2 separate regions of the Homo sapiens genome follow, and region 1 is linked to region 2. Evidence: promoter capture Hi-C in 16 types of primary human blood cells and fetal thymus (Javierre and others, 2016). All regions are on one chromosome and are shown on one strand. Each heading gives the region's core, a stretch centred on a gene start or on the middle of the fragment in contact. The rest is flanking DNA. Distances are from core to core; before and after follow the strand shown.

The links. The method cuts DNA at HindIII sites, captures the fragments that hold promoters and counts their contacts. A CHiCAGO score of 5 or more calls a contact.
Region 1: a contact is called between a fragment that was not itself captured here and the fragment with the promoter of RPS12 in region 2, in 1 of 17 cell types (non-activated CD4 T cells). The highest score is 5.9, in non-activated CD4 T cells.

Annotation. Positions count from the first base shown.
Region 1 is chr6:135,490,975-135,497,195 of GRCh38, forward strand. AHI1 (Abelson helper integration site 1) reads right to left here. Exons shown (of 29, transcript NM_001134831.2): 2 at 6,214-6,221; 3 at 4,840-4,924; 4 at 1,254-1,317. The coding sequence starts at 1,263. Among named protein-coding and RNA genes, the nearest start is that of AHI1, 3.7 kb to the right of the region's middle. The HindIII fragment of the contact is 5,606 bases long and covers 449-6,054 here.
Region 2 is chr6:132,810,540-132,816,566 of GRCh38, forward strand. RPS12 (ribosomal protein S12) reads left to right here and starts at 4,030. Exons shown (of 6, transcript NM_001016.4): 1 at 4,030-4,074; 2 at 4,193-4,243; 3 at 4,433-4,549; 4 at 5,922-6,024. The coding sequence starts at 4,230. SNORD101 (small nucleolar RNA, C/D box 101) reads left to right here and starts at 4,768; the gene lies at 4,768-4,840. LOC107986644 (a long non-coding RNA gene) reads right to left here and starts at 3,749. Exons shown (of 3, transcript XR_001744345.3): 1 at 2,754-3,749. RefSeq lists enhancers at 2,496-2,565, 2,995-3,741, 3,656-3,935, 4,366-4,495. The HindIII fragment of the contact is 13,401 bases long and covers 1-6,027 here.

The DNA of each region.
Region 1 (6,221 bases), core at 2,002-4,501, 2.7 Mb after region 2:
TCCTTTGCTAAGTTAACTTTTTATTTCTGATAAACAGTAGCATCTACCACTGTTAGTTACGTGTTATGTGGCTTTAGACAAGTTACTCAAGATCTCTAAACTTCATTTTCCTTATCTGTAAAATCACAATTATCTTATGCCAAAGATCATTTTGCATGAAAAATGGCTAAGGTGTGCCTAGCCTGTAATCAGTATTCCACAAATATTAACAGGTTTTTCCTTTAAAACATGAAGAAGATAATGCTTAAGCCCCTGAAAATTTCCCAATACATTTAGGATAAAATAAGTCTTTTATATGCCCTACAGGGCTCCATACCTCCTGATCTATCTCCAGGGCTTCAAATCAAGACAAATATCCCCTTAGATGCCTATGTTCTAGCTATAATACCCTTCCTTTAGCTCCTCCGTCACAGCAAGCTCCTTCCCACATGAAGCTGTTTCTGAGGCAAGCTTCCTCTAATTCCTCACCTGGCTGGTGTTAACCTGTCTGTTTAAATGCTGCCTGTAAATAAAACACCTCCTGACAAACTCATCTAATTTTCCCTTTTCTCACATAGCAGGTTGTTCTCTTCCTTCACAGCACTCAACCCAAATGGAAATTATATAATTATTTTTATATCTATATAAAGAAACATATTTTCTGTTTCCCCCATAACTACATCCCCAGCTACTATTATGAGGTCTGACATAGTGTACATAGTCATTATGTTTTAAATTAATAAATGCTGAATGAATGGGTGCTCTAGAGCAAGTGTCGGCAAACTATGGCCTGCAGGCTAGTCACTTGTTTTTGTAAAGATTTATTGAAATCAGACATACCCATTTGATTAAGAATTGTTATAACTGCTTTCATGCTTTAAAAGAGACAGAGAGACAGAGTTGAGCAGTTATAGCAGAGACTAAGCCTAAAATATTTACTAGCTAGCCCTTTTAGAAAAGATTGCCAATGCTTGTGGTGGAGTAAAACATTCAATTTTGATGATAAAGAATAAAAACTAACCCTATGTTGTAATCATTATTTACCTTGTCCATCTGAGTCCCAAACTACCATCCATTAAATACATACTAACCTTAATCACAATATTAAATAGAAAACTGAATACAAAACCAATAAGTATCTCTAAATGTAGTATATTTGGTCAATGACATCTACTGTATTCATTAATCTGTTCAAGAATCCCTTAAAATAAACCAAACTTAAAAGTAAATGTATAAAATATAAATTTTATACATAAATTTCATAGAAGTCTTACCTGTAGGCATCTCTCAGCTTTATGCAGAGGACTGAGAATGCAAAGCATTGACTCAATCAGGATCCTATCGAAACAAAGGAGATGTATTTGTAATATGGAACTTCCAAATAAAAATTATAAAACGTTCTTCACACAAGATCATGCCATTGTATGTCCACTACTTCATTAAGTTTATACCAATAAAGCTATGTTCCCTTAACCCAATCTTATGCAAATGACTTGGGTACATTTGAATCAGTTTAGGGCTCTAAAATCAAGGGAAACAAACTAGATCATATCTGAATAAAGTATTTATATATTTGAAACAAAAAAAACATTTTGAAGGCAGTGCACATCTAATGTGGTATGTTAATAAACTTTTTAAAGTGTTTTAATACATTAATGAACATTTCAACGCACTTTTAAGAAACCAAACTCCATCTCAGGATTGACTTTCCTAAGAGCATTCAATATTACATTAAAGCATGCTTGTGGGTAGCACACTCACAGTGAATTTAAATACCTCTGTGTCTGCCACTGAAAATTCTGCTACAATAGAGAAGGATAGTACAAATATTTGCACCATCTTTCTTTAATAAAACCTGGATGTGTATTACTGTGTCAGAACTACTCAAAACCATGGTTCAACTCAGTATGTATATTACTAAATTGCCCATTTTATTAAAAAAATCGGTGTATGTCTAAAATGAACATATTCTCACATTAGAACATTTAGAATGTAATATGCATGTTTTTGAGACTAAAACTGAAGAGTGTTAAAAAAAAAGCTGGTTCAGGAATTATTGATTTGTTTGTTTTTGAGATGGAGTCTCCCTTTGTCGAGTGCAGTGGTGTGATCTCGGCTCACTGCAACCTCCGCCTCCCAGGTTCAAGCGATTCTCCTGCCTCAGCCTCCCGAGTGGCTGGGATTACAGGTGTGCGCCACCACACCCAGCTAATTTTTGTATTTTTAGTAGAGACAGGGTTTCATCATGTTGGCCAGGCTGGTCTTGAACTCCTGACCTCATATGATCTGCCCGACTCAGCCTCCCAAAGTGTTGGGATTACAGGCGTGAGCCACCACACTGGGCCCAAGGCATTATTGGTTAATGCTCCAATTCCCTGGACATCCACATTCATGTTCCTCTTGCAGAAATGTCTAAGAAATTCTAAAAAGAAAGGAATGATTATGTAAACATACCTAACTATGTCAGTTAACTTAGGCAACAACTACGTGGCACCCAGTCAAAACAGACATCACTAAATCCATGGAGTAAAAATTCCTATACTTTAGTGATAGGAGCCTGTATTTACTCCTTCTAGCAGTTATAAATTTAATAAATCTAGTCTTCTACTTTCTAGTCTATATTAAATTAGAAAAGAGAAGCTGCAAAGGCAAGTGCAATGACAGCATGAGTAATTGAAACCTGAGAGCACGGAAGTAGAAAAATCATAAAACAAATAAAAATTTAATATTTATACTACTCGATGGTCATCTAATAGGCCAGGAAAAAGCTGACCTATATTATGACTATGATTCATCAAAAAAAAGCCTGCTGGGCGCCGTGGCTCATGTCTGTAATCCCAATACTTGGGAAGGATAAGGCGGGTGGATCACTTGAGGTCAGGAGTTTGTGTCCTGTCTGGCCAACATGGTAAAACCCCATCTCTACCAAAAATACAAAACTTAGTCAGGCGTGGTGGTGGGTGCCTGTAATCCCAGCTACTGGGGAGGCTGAGGCAGGAAAATCGCTTGAACCTGAAATGTGGAGGTTGCAGGGAGCCAAGACTGCACCAGTGCGCTCCAGGTGATGGAGTGAGGTAATATTTTAGAAAGATTAAATAACTAATGAAGAGGCAGGAGAAAGAATCGGAGATAATTCCCATGTTTCTAGAACTAGAATAAGTAGATTAGTAGTATCATTACACTGTAATATAATGCAGTACAGGGCAGTAGTTTAAAATCCATGTCCTAGAATTAGTTTCCATAGTCACTTGCGTGACTTTTGTTTCCTCATCTATAAAAACACCCTACCAGTGCCGACTCAAAGGGTTGTTGTAAGGGTTAAATGATTTAGAACAGTACCGTAGACAGAAGAAGCAACAATAAATGTTAGCTATAACTGTAACAGGTTGTTAGGGTGCAGTCACTGAGCTTAGTATGGGTCATGTTGAGTTGGGTATCTGAAGGGCACTGAGCAGCTACAAGCATCAGCTCCATTTTCAGATCCTTGGATCCAAATACCAGTTCTATCTGCCAGCAGATTCACCTCTATGGATATCAACTTCCTAATCTTTCACAATAATAAGAGTAAATCACTCACAGTGTTTTTATAAAGATTAAATGAGAATATGCAAATAAAATACTAGGCACAATGCCTAGCACATGGCAAGCCCTTCAAAAACAACAACTGTTATTACTGTCACGTGTGTGTGTGTTTACGTATATAATCATATTATGTTTGTTAGGCAATCTACTAATCCAGCAGGGAGACAATAGGCTGAAGATTTGGGAGTTATTTATAAATATGATAGTTCCAAGAAAATAAAAAGCCAATGAGAATCCTGTGAGCCTACAATATAAAGTAAAATCAGGGAGATAGGTGAAAAACTGGGAGATAGAAGCATTACAGAAGCAAACCCAAGTTTTAAAGGAGATGTTGCCTATATACTGTGTGGCATCAAAAGGGGCTGGAGGTTTTGAAGAAAGTCCACTGAATCTGCAAGTAGGAAGTCACGTGTGTCAAAGCTGTTTATAGAGGGGCAGAAACTTAGCAGGCTGGGGCTAAGGAATGAATGGAAGGTGACACCTGTAGAAGGGACATGTAGACAATTCTTTACAGAATTCTTCCAACTGTCTTCCCATCACCCCCAAAGGCAGTGACATGAGACAGTAACTCTGAGGGACAAAAACACTGTGGAAGGATTATGCTTTTTGTTTTAAGATTGTTTCCACGCCGCTATCACCTTTCCCTTAAAAAAAAAATCATCATCTACACAGCAACTAGTGTAATTTTCTAAAATTCAAATGTGATGGTGTCGTTTCTTCGCTTAAAATTCTTCACTAGCTCCCAATCGCACATTGAAAAAAATATCAAGTCCTTACCAGTGAGGTCCAAGGCCATTTATGAAATGTCCCCTTCACACATCCACTGTGTTCCAGACATGTGAAACTACCTGCAGGCCTTCACGTGTGCCAAGTTCTCTCTTGCTTTTGTATCATTACACACATATCCCCTCCCCTGAAAAATGTGCTTCCTCCTTTGTCTCTCTAACAAACTCCTCACTATCCTTTAAAGGCAAATGATATCTTCTCTAGAGAGCATTCTCACCTTGAAGGGCATTTAAGAACTTCTCTTCTGTGCTTCCAGGGTGCCTTAATCTTTGTAGCTCCCTCTACCTCAACCTTGAATTTTCACCCTGGTAAAATGTTCTGTAACTCCCACCAAACTGCTAGCTTTGGAGGACCAAGCCAATGCTCTCTTATAGTTATGTATCTGCCACTATGAAAGAAAAGAGAGGAGAAGAAGAGAGAAGCGAAGTGAAGAGAAGCAAAAGCAAAGCGAGTAAAAAAGACTCAGGCTTGAGCTCTAGTGTCACCACTTACTGATGTGTGGCCTTGGGCAAGCTACTTAATTTCTAATCCTTGGTTTTTCCTTGTCTGGGAATTTAAAATGGCACCTATTTTAGTACTGTAAGGAGAAGAGAAAATACCAAAAAGCAAAGTAATCAGTACATTGCAATAAAATTACTTTATGTCCATTATTATTGTATTAAAAATAAGTAAATAATTACAAATAAAATATATAAATCATATACTTATTTACTATTAACAGCTTAATACACAACTAAACTAATAAATACTAATATTATGTAATGATAACACAGCAAATACAGTACAGAAATCATCTCTAATTTTTTTTTTTTGGAGACAGAGTCTCGCTCTGTTGCCCAGGTTGGAGTGCAGTGGCACAATCTCAGCTCACTGCTGCCTCCGCCTCCTGGGTTCAAGCAATTCACCTGCCTCAGCCTCCCTGGTAGCTGGGACTACAGGTGTGGGCCATCACACCCAGCTAATTTTTGTATTTTTAGTAGAGATGGGGTTTCACCAACATTGGCCAGGCTGATACTGAACTCCTGACCTCAAGTGATCCACCCACTTTAGCCTCCCAAAGTGCTAGGATTACAGGCGTGACCCACTGCGCTCAGCCATCTCTAAATCTTAATATGTACTACAGCAAACATGATAGAATTAACGGCTAATATTTGATTAGTAACCTCTGCAAAAAATCAGATAGGACTTTAAAAGACACCTCTGATTCTTATATATTCCATTATTTTACAACTTCTCCCTCACAAACCCTTTCACAGGAGCGTCTAAGAGATATTACACAGGAAAATTAAATGGATTACATTTCATCTCATTTTATTTTACAGACAACCTGATTATCAGCCAATATGTGGCTCAATATCATTGGGAGAAAAAACTGAGAGGCTTGATAATTCGCTCCTTAACCAAATGTTATCGCAAGGGAAAAAAAGACAAACAAAAATCCTGTATACAAAATTCAATGAATAAATCAACAAGATTCTTCATAAGTAAACAAGATTCTAACTTCATAAATATTATTCCTCATAAACAAGATTCTAGGTATGGTTTAAAAACACTTTTGGTATTTGAATTTCTTTCAAGCATTCTTTAAAAAATTTCCCAGAGTACTCATAAGAAGCAATCTTCCTCCTAACGCCCAAGCAGTAACAGCAACTGTTAATGCAACAGGTGAAAAAATCGTTGGCATCTCTTTCTCAAAAGAAAGGGGAAAGCTTTATTTTCACAATAGATGTTTTTACAGGAATGCTAAACGCAGCACAACCTTTGATAAGGATTCTTAAATGGTCTACATTTTTGTTCTATTTTTATGCATCTCGAAACAACCCTATTAATATAATTTGGCTCTTATAAATATAACAAATTGATCACCTTTTCTC
Region 2 (6,027 bases), core at 2,780-5,279:
TAAATTACTTTACAGGCATAGTGGTAAACACTTTAAATGACTATCTCATTTAATCCTCACAGAAATATTATAGCATTACCACCATTTTACTAGCTCAGAAAGAAAATAACTTGCCAAAGGTCGCAAAGTAAGCTGGAATTTTAACCCTGCACAGTTGGGTCCTCCTGACCACTCCAAGATATAAAATCATTATTATGCCTCAGCCCGGTTTTTGTCTCCAGCTCTGGTCTTCAAAGTAAGTTTTTTTGCAGTTCATCTCAAAGATGCTTTCTTTCATTTGATCATTCTGTATCTCCTCCTTGTCATCTGTTATGAGTTGAACTGTGTTCCCTCAAAATTCACATGTTGAAATCCTAACCCCTTCCACTTCAGAACAAGACCTGATTTGGAACAGGTTTGTTGTAGACGTAATTAGTTAAGATGAGGTTTTACTGGAGCAGGTGAGCCCCTAATCCAATATGGCTGATATTCTTATAAAAAGGAAACATTCAGACACAAAATCAGACATGCACATAGGGACAACATCATGCGAAGATTGGAGTTATGCTAACACAAGTCAAGGAACACCAAGATTGCCAACAAACCTCCAGAAGCTAGGAAAGATGTGTGAAATGGATTCTTCCTCACACCCTCAGAAGGAACCAACACTCCCAACACCTTGACTTCAGACTTCCAGCCTTCAGCATTATAATAGATTTCTGTTGGTTAAGCCACCCAGTTTGTGGTACTTTGCTATGGCAGCCCTAGCAAACTACACATCTACACTTAGATAATTCAGAAATCCAAATTTCTAAATCCAAATGCAAATTTTTCTGCCTAACAGCAATATTCCCTTCCTCCATCTATATAGTTTTTAGCACAGTGGGATAGAACTAGCTGTACTATTGCCAAACCAGAGACGTAGAGAGTCATTCTTGAATTCTCGGCAATCTCCTTTCCACATTCTGGCAATCATTCAAATGACCGAAGGGTTAGGAGCACAGGCTTTGAAGTCCACTGAGCTTAAATACCAGCTTCCACATTTATTAGCTGTGTGATCTTGGGCTACCTAAGCCTTGGCTTCCTGACCTGTTAAAGTGGGCTAATACCATCACTACCAGATAGGGTCTCCATAACAATAAAGGGGAAAAATGCCTGAAAGAATTTAGCGCTTTATCTGGCATATAGAAAAAGTGAAACAAATTGCCTGTTATTATCAGTATTGTTCCTAAAACAAACTTCAGAATACATTTAGTTTTCATATGTGTGTCAGACTCATATTTGTGCACATGTGTTATACTCTGCTGGTATGAGTGACCAACCACTATCCTCTATGTAGTATTGTCTTCCACCTTTACCAGTCTCTGAAATTGAGAGGAGGTAACCTTAAAAATGTGAACTAGGAGGCTGGGCGCAGTGGCTCACACCTGTAATCCCAGCACTTCGGGAGTCCAAGGTGGGCGGATCAACCAAGGTCAGGTGTTCCAGACTAGCCTGGCCAACATGGTGAAACTCCCATTTCTACTAAAAATACAAAACTTAGCTGGGCATAGTGGTGGGCACCTGTAATTCCAGCTACTTGGGACTGAGGCAGGAGAATCGCTTGAACCTGGGAGGTGGAGGTTGCAGTGAGCCAAGATCCCGACACTGCCTTGGCTACAAGAACAAAACTCCATCTCAAAAAAAAAAAAAAAAAAAAAAAGTGAACTAGGAGAATCTATATTAAAGAACCCCTGTATCACCAGTGTGCCCCCTGACTTCATTTTGGGGGTTAGAACTGGTTATATAAGTAGGACTTATATAAGTAGGTTATATAAGTTATATAAGTAGGTTATATAAGTAGGACTTAAAAAAAAATGTAGCTCCCTCTAAGGAGGGAGGTTTGTGTGAAAAGACATTTTAGTGCAGTGAAACATTAAAGCAGAGATCCACGATGTCTGAGTCAATAGAACAGATTAGCAGCTGCTGAAAGATAGAAACCAAGTCTGAGCTGGTTGGTACTGGGAACAACTGCCTTAGCTAACAAGGCACTTGATCATTTTCCCCCCACATAAATATGCTGTTTGGCAGTGAATGTTTTCACTTAGGTTTCCCAAATTCCCTGCTTCTTCCTTAAAAATTTGTTTGGGGAAGGAATCTAATATGCTTAGCATATCAACTGTACTGTCTTTAGATAATGAGAAATGCGCTGAAAGACTATTTGCCACATTCTCTTTCAAAAATACAAACGTGTTAATTATAACCTCCAAAAAAGGCAAGAAGGATTTCATGCCTTTGCCCCTACACTTTCATCCATTTAGAATACCCTCCTCTCCTTCCATGCTCACCGATTTGGAATCTCTTAGTTTTTGTTTTGAGCCTGTTTCGAATGCTGCCAGAAGCCTGAGGTCCTCTTACCTTTTCACACCATCCCCACTCCCTAACCCCCTGCCACTTTGTATCTCCTCTGTGGCCCTGAGGTATTCTGATTTTTGTCTAAAATCTTAATCCCACCACAAACAAACCAGGGCTACAGGAATGAATCATCTTTATAAATTCCTCGTTTTTTTTTTTTTTTTAAATCAAAAGCTCAATAAACATTTGCATGAGTTACTGACAGAGAAGCAGCTTCAACGCTTTAAAAATGAAACTGAAACCAGCGGAAAATCTAAAACTGAACTCTATCAGTAAACTGAACTCTATCAGTTTATTAACATTACAGCAGGTCTCTGTTCTGGTGAACTCCCTGGTGCTCTTACTGCGTTACCCATTTTTGTTTTTTTCGCTGCACTCACCAGTCTAACAGTATCTGCCCACTGGATTCACAGCGCTGGCACGTGCCAAGCGCCTAATAATTGCTCACTGGTTTGGCGGCTGACTACCCAGGAGAGGAAATTAAACACAAAGGCAGTATTGATCATATTCAGTAGTGTTTCGTGCGTTTGGTTTGGAAGTGGGGATTGGGGAATGGCCAATCACTTCCAAATTTAAAATATTGCTTCCTGGAAGAAAATGGACTCCTCAAAGACTGGATATTTCATGTCTGTAGTCCCAGGACCTGGCCCTGCGTCAGGCACATTGTAGGTGTTGAAAATGCACCTGAGGAATTCTGAGTTGCGCGGAACTGTGTATTCCGAGCACAACGCGTCGTTAAAAACCAAACAAAGCAGAACAAACTTCGTTCAGAAGCGACTCCCGCTATACTTAGAAACTAGAATTGACCCCTGGCTGCAGGGTTCCGCTTTACCAACACACCGCAGGGAAAGGGCTTAGAAATAGTGAAAGCGGCCGGGGGCGGCGGGTCACGCCTCTAATCCCAGCATTTTGGGAGGCCGAGGCGGGTGGATCCCCTGAGGTCAGGAGTTCGAGACCAGCCTGGCCAACATGGTGAAATCCCGTCTTTACTAAAAATACAAAAAATTAGCCAGGGTGGTGGCAGGCGCCTGCAATCCCGGCTACTCGGGAGGCTGAGGCAGGAGAATCGCTTGAAACCGGGAGCCGGAGGTCGCAGTAAGCTGAGATCGCGCCATTGCACTCCAGCCTGGAAGAGTGAAAGCATGTAGGCTCTCGTTTCATGAAGACAAAGATGAGGATCACACCCACAACGACACAAACATGGTCTCTCAGGGTGACTTAGAAGCGAAGGAACAAAGTGCGCTGCCTGGGGAGGCTGGGTCTTGTAGAAGCAACAGGAAAGTAGAACGTGGTGTGGAAAGGGTTAAAACTGGCGCTCGGCGGGATACAGGGCTCTAGGTGCCTTAAAGAACACGCGGACACACTTGTTTGGCTTCTGTCGCGCTCCGTAGAATGAGTTCCCTGGGCCTCGGTGGGCCACGCCTCCGCAAAGAAGGACAACGCGAAGCTGCCCGCGTAGTGCCTGTTGCACTCGCCAAGGACCGGCCTGGCAGAGATAGAAAACTCGCAGTACGTTTGCCTCAGAACCGCCTCAATCCGGAAACAGAAACTCCCCAGGCCCGGCACTGCGGGAGCCACCTCTTTCGAGGGTGGGAGTGCACATGCGCACAGGGGACCTGAAAAACCCTTAAATACCGGCATGCGTGCGGATGAGGCCTCTTTCCCTGCCGCCGCCGAGTCGCGCGGAGGCGGAGGCTTGGGGTAAGTTGAGCGAGGCGGCAGGGGGGTGTATTGGTTATAATTTGTGGCTCGTTGCGTTCTTGCTGGGATTCGTGACGAGTATCTGGTTCTTTAACAAGTCAATGCTTTTGTTTTTTAGTGCGTTCAAGATTCAACTTCACCCGTAACCCACCGCCATGGCCGAGGAAGGGTGAGCCCAGGGGCCGGGGTTGGAGTTGGGGTCGGGGTGCGGCTGAGGCGTGGGGCTAGAGCTGGCGGAACAGGACTGGGTCAAACGGGTCGCCGTAAGCGCGTCTGTTGTACACTTAGCTTTTGCTGAGTGCAAGGCCTTATGTGGTGTGAGGATTTTAACTGATGGTTCTGATGTGTCGCGTTTAAGCATTGCTGCTGGAGGTGTAATGGACGTTAATACTGCTTTACAAGAGGTTCTGAAGACTGCCCTCATCCACGATGGCCTAGCACGTGGAATTCGCGAAGCTGCCAAAGCCTTAGACAAGTACGTGTATCAGTCTCAATACTGTGGGTTCTTGCAACCGGAACAAAACTGCCACCCAAGGGAAGAAGGCATGGAGTTCATGGTGTTAGCGCAAAAGTTCTGAATGGCATCCGTCCTACCGGAAACCTAGGAAAAGGTATCAGAACTCAGATCTATAAAGCCCACTTAAAATGTGTGGGTTGCTGTTTGGAATGGGGATAAGCACTCAAAACTACAGTGTTTGAATGATGACTTTAATTGTCGGATACCCCTTCACTCCTTTTATGAGTGAAACATAAGAGTCTGACAAACCTGTAGGTTGTGGAGCTAGTCAGTCTTATACTTATCTGGCAGATAGATGAGATGGAGAGCCACATTACATCTGGTAGTTTGCAAAACAAGCATTAATTTAATGGAATTTCAAACTCAGGTTTCAGAAGCATTTGGTCCTAGATGAATTTAGTAGTATAATAGCTGTGATTTATTTGAATTTGGGATATTTGTTAATGTATTTGAATGGATCGAGTTAATGTGTTTTTTAGGGTGGTGGCATTGACAAATCAACCTACTCTTGAGCTGAATTTAAATGCAGTTTTAAGGTTTTACAGGACAAGTTCGTTTTGGTGTAATCTAGCCAGTTCAATCCGATGGAAACGGCATTATTGTTTAATGTATTTAGTAGGTCCTAGTATGAGTCTTCTGTATTTCTATTTCGGCATTATTGCATGGCATTTCATAACTGTTCCATTAATGCCACAGTCTTTTTTTTTTCTTTTTTCTTTTTTTTTTTTGAGACAAAGAGTCTTGCTCTGTCCCCCAGGCTGGAGTGCAGTGGCGCGATCTCATTGCAACCTCTACCTACCAGGTTCAAGCGATTCTTCTGCCTCCCGAGTAGATGGAATTACAGGCACACGCCACCATGCCCAGCTAGTTTTTGTACTTTCAGTAGAAACGGGGTTTCGCCATGTTGGTCTCTGGCTGGTCTGGTACTCCTGACCTCGGGTCATCTGCCCCCCTCGTCTTCCCAAAGTGCTGGGATTACAGGAGTGAGCCATCGTGCCCGGCCTTTCACATGTTTCTTTAGGTATATGAAGCTGGCTTACAAGAAAGCTATTATGGTTGGGTTTTGGCCAGAAGTTTTAAAAATGACTTACACCAATTCAGTGTGTCAGGGACAGAGGTTTTACTGAAGACCAGTTGTAGGTTAATTGAAGATGTATATGCTCCCTAGCAGGTTCTTCAGACTCAAGCAATTTTGTACGCATTTATGTGTTCAGTGGATTGGCTGCTTATGTTTCGCAAGTGTTAGTGCAAAGATAACCCTCCTAAAATGCAAGAATGATGGATTTGGATCTGAGTTTTAGCTCCATTTTCATTGTAATTTGAATTTCAGGCGCCAAGCCCATCTTTGTGTGCTTGCATCCAACTGTGATGAGCCTATGTATGTCAAGTTGGTGGAGGCCCTTTGTGCTGAACACCAAATCAACCTAATTAAGGTA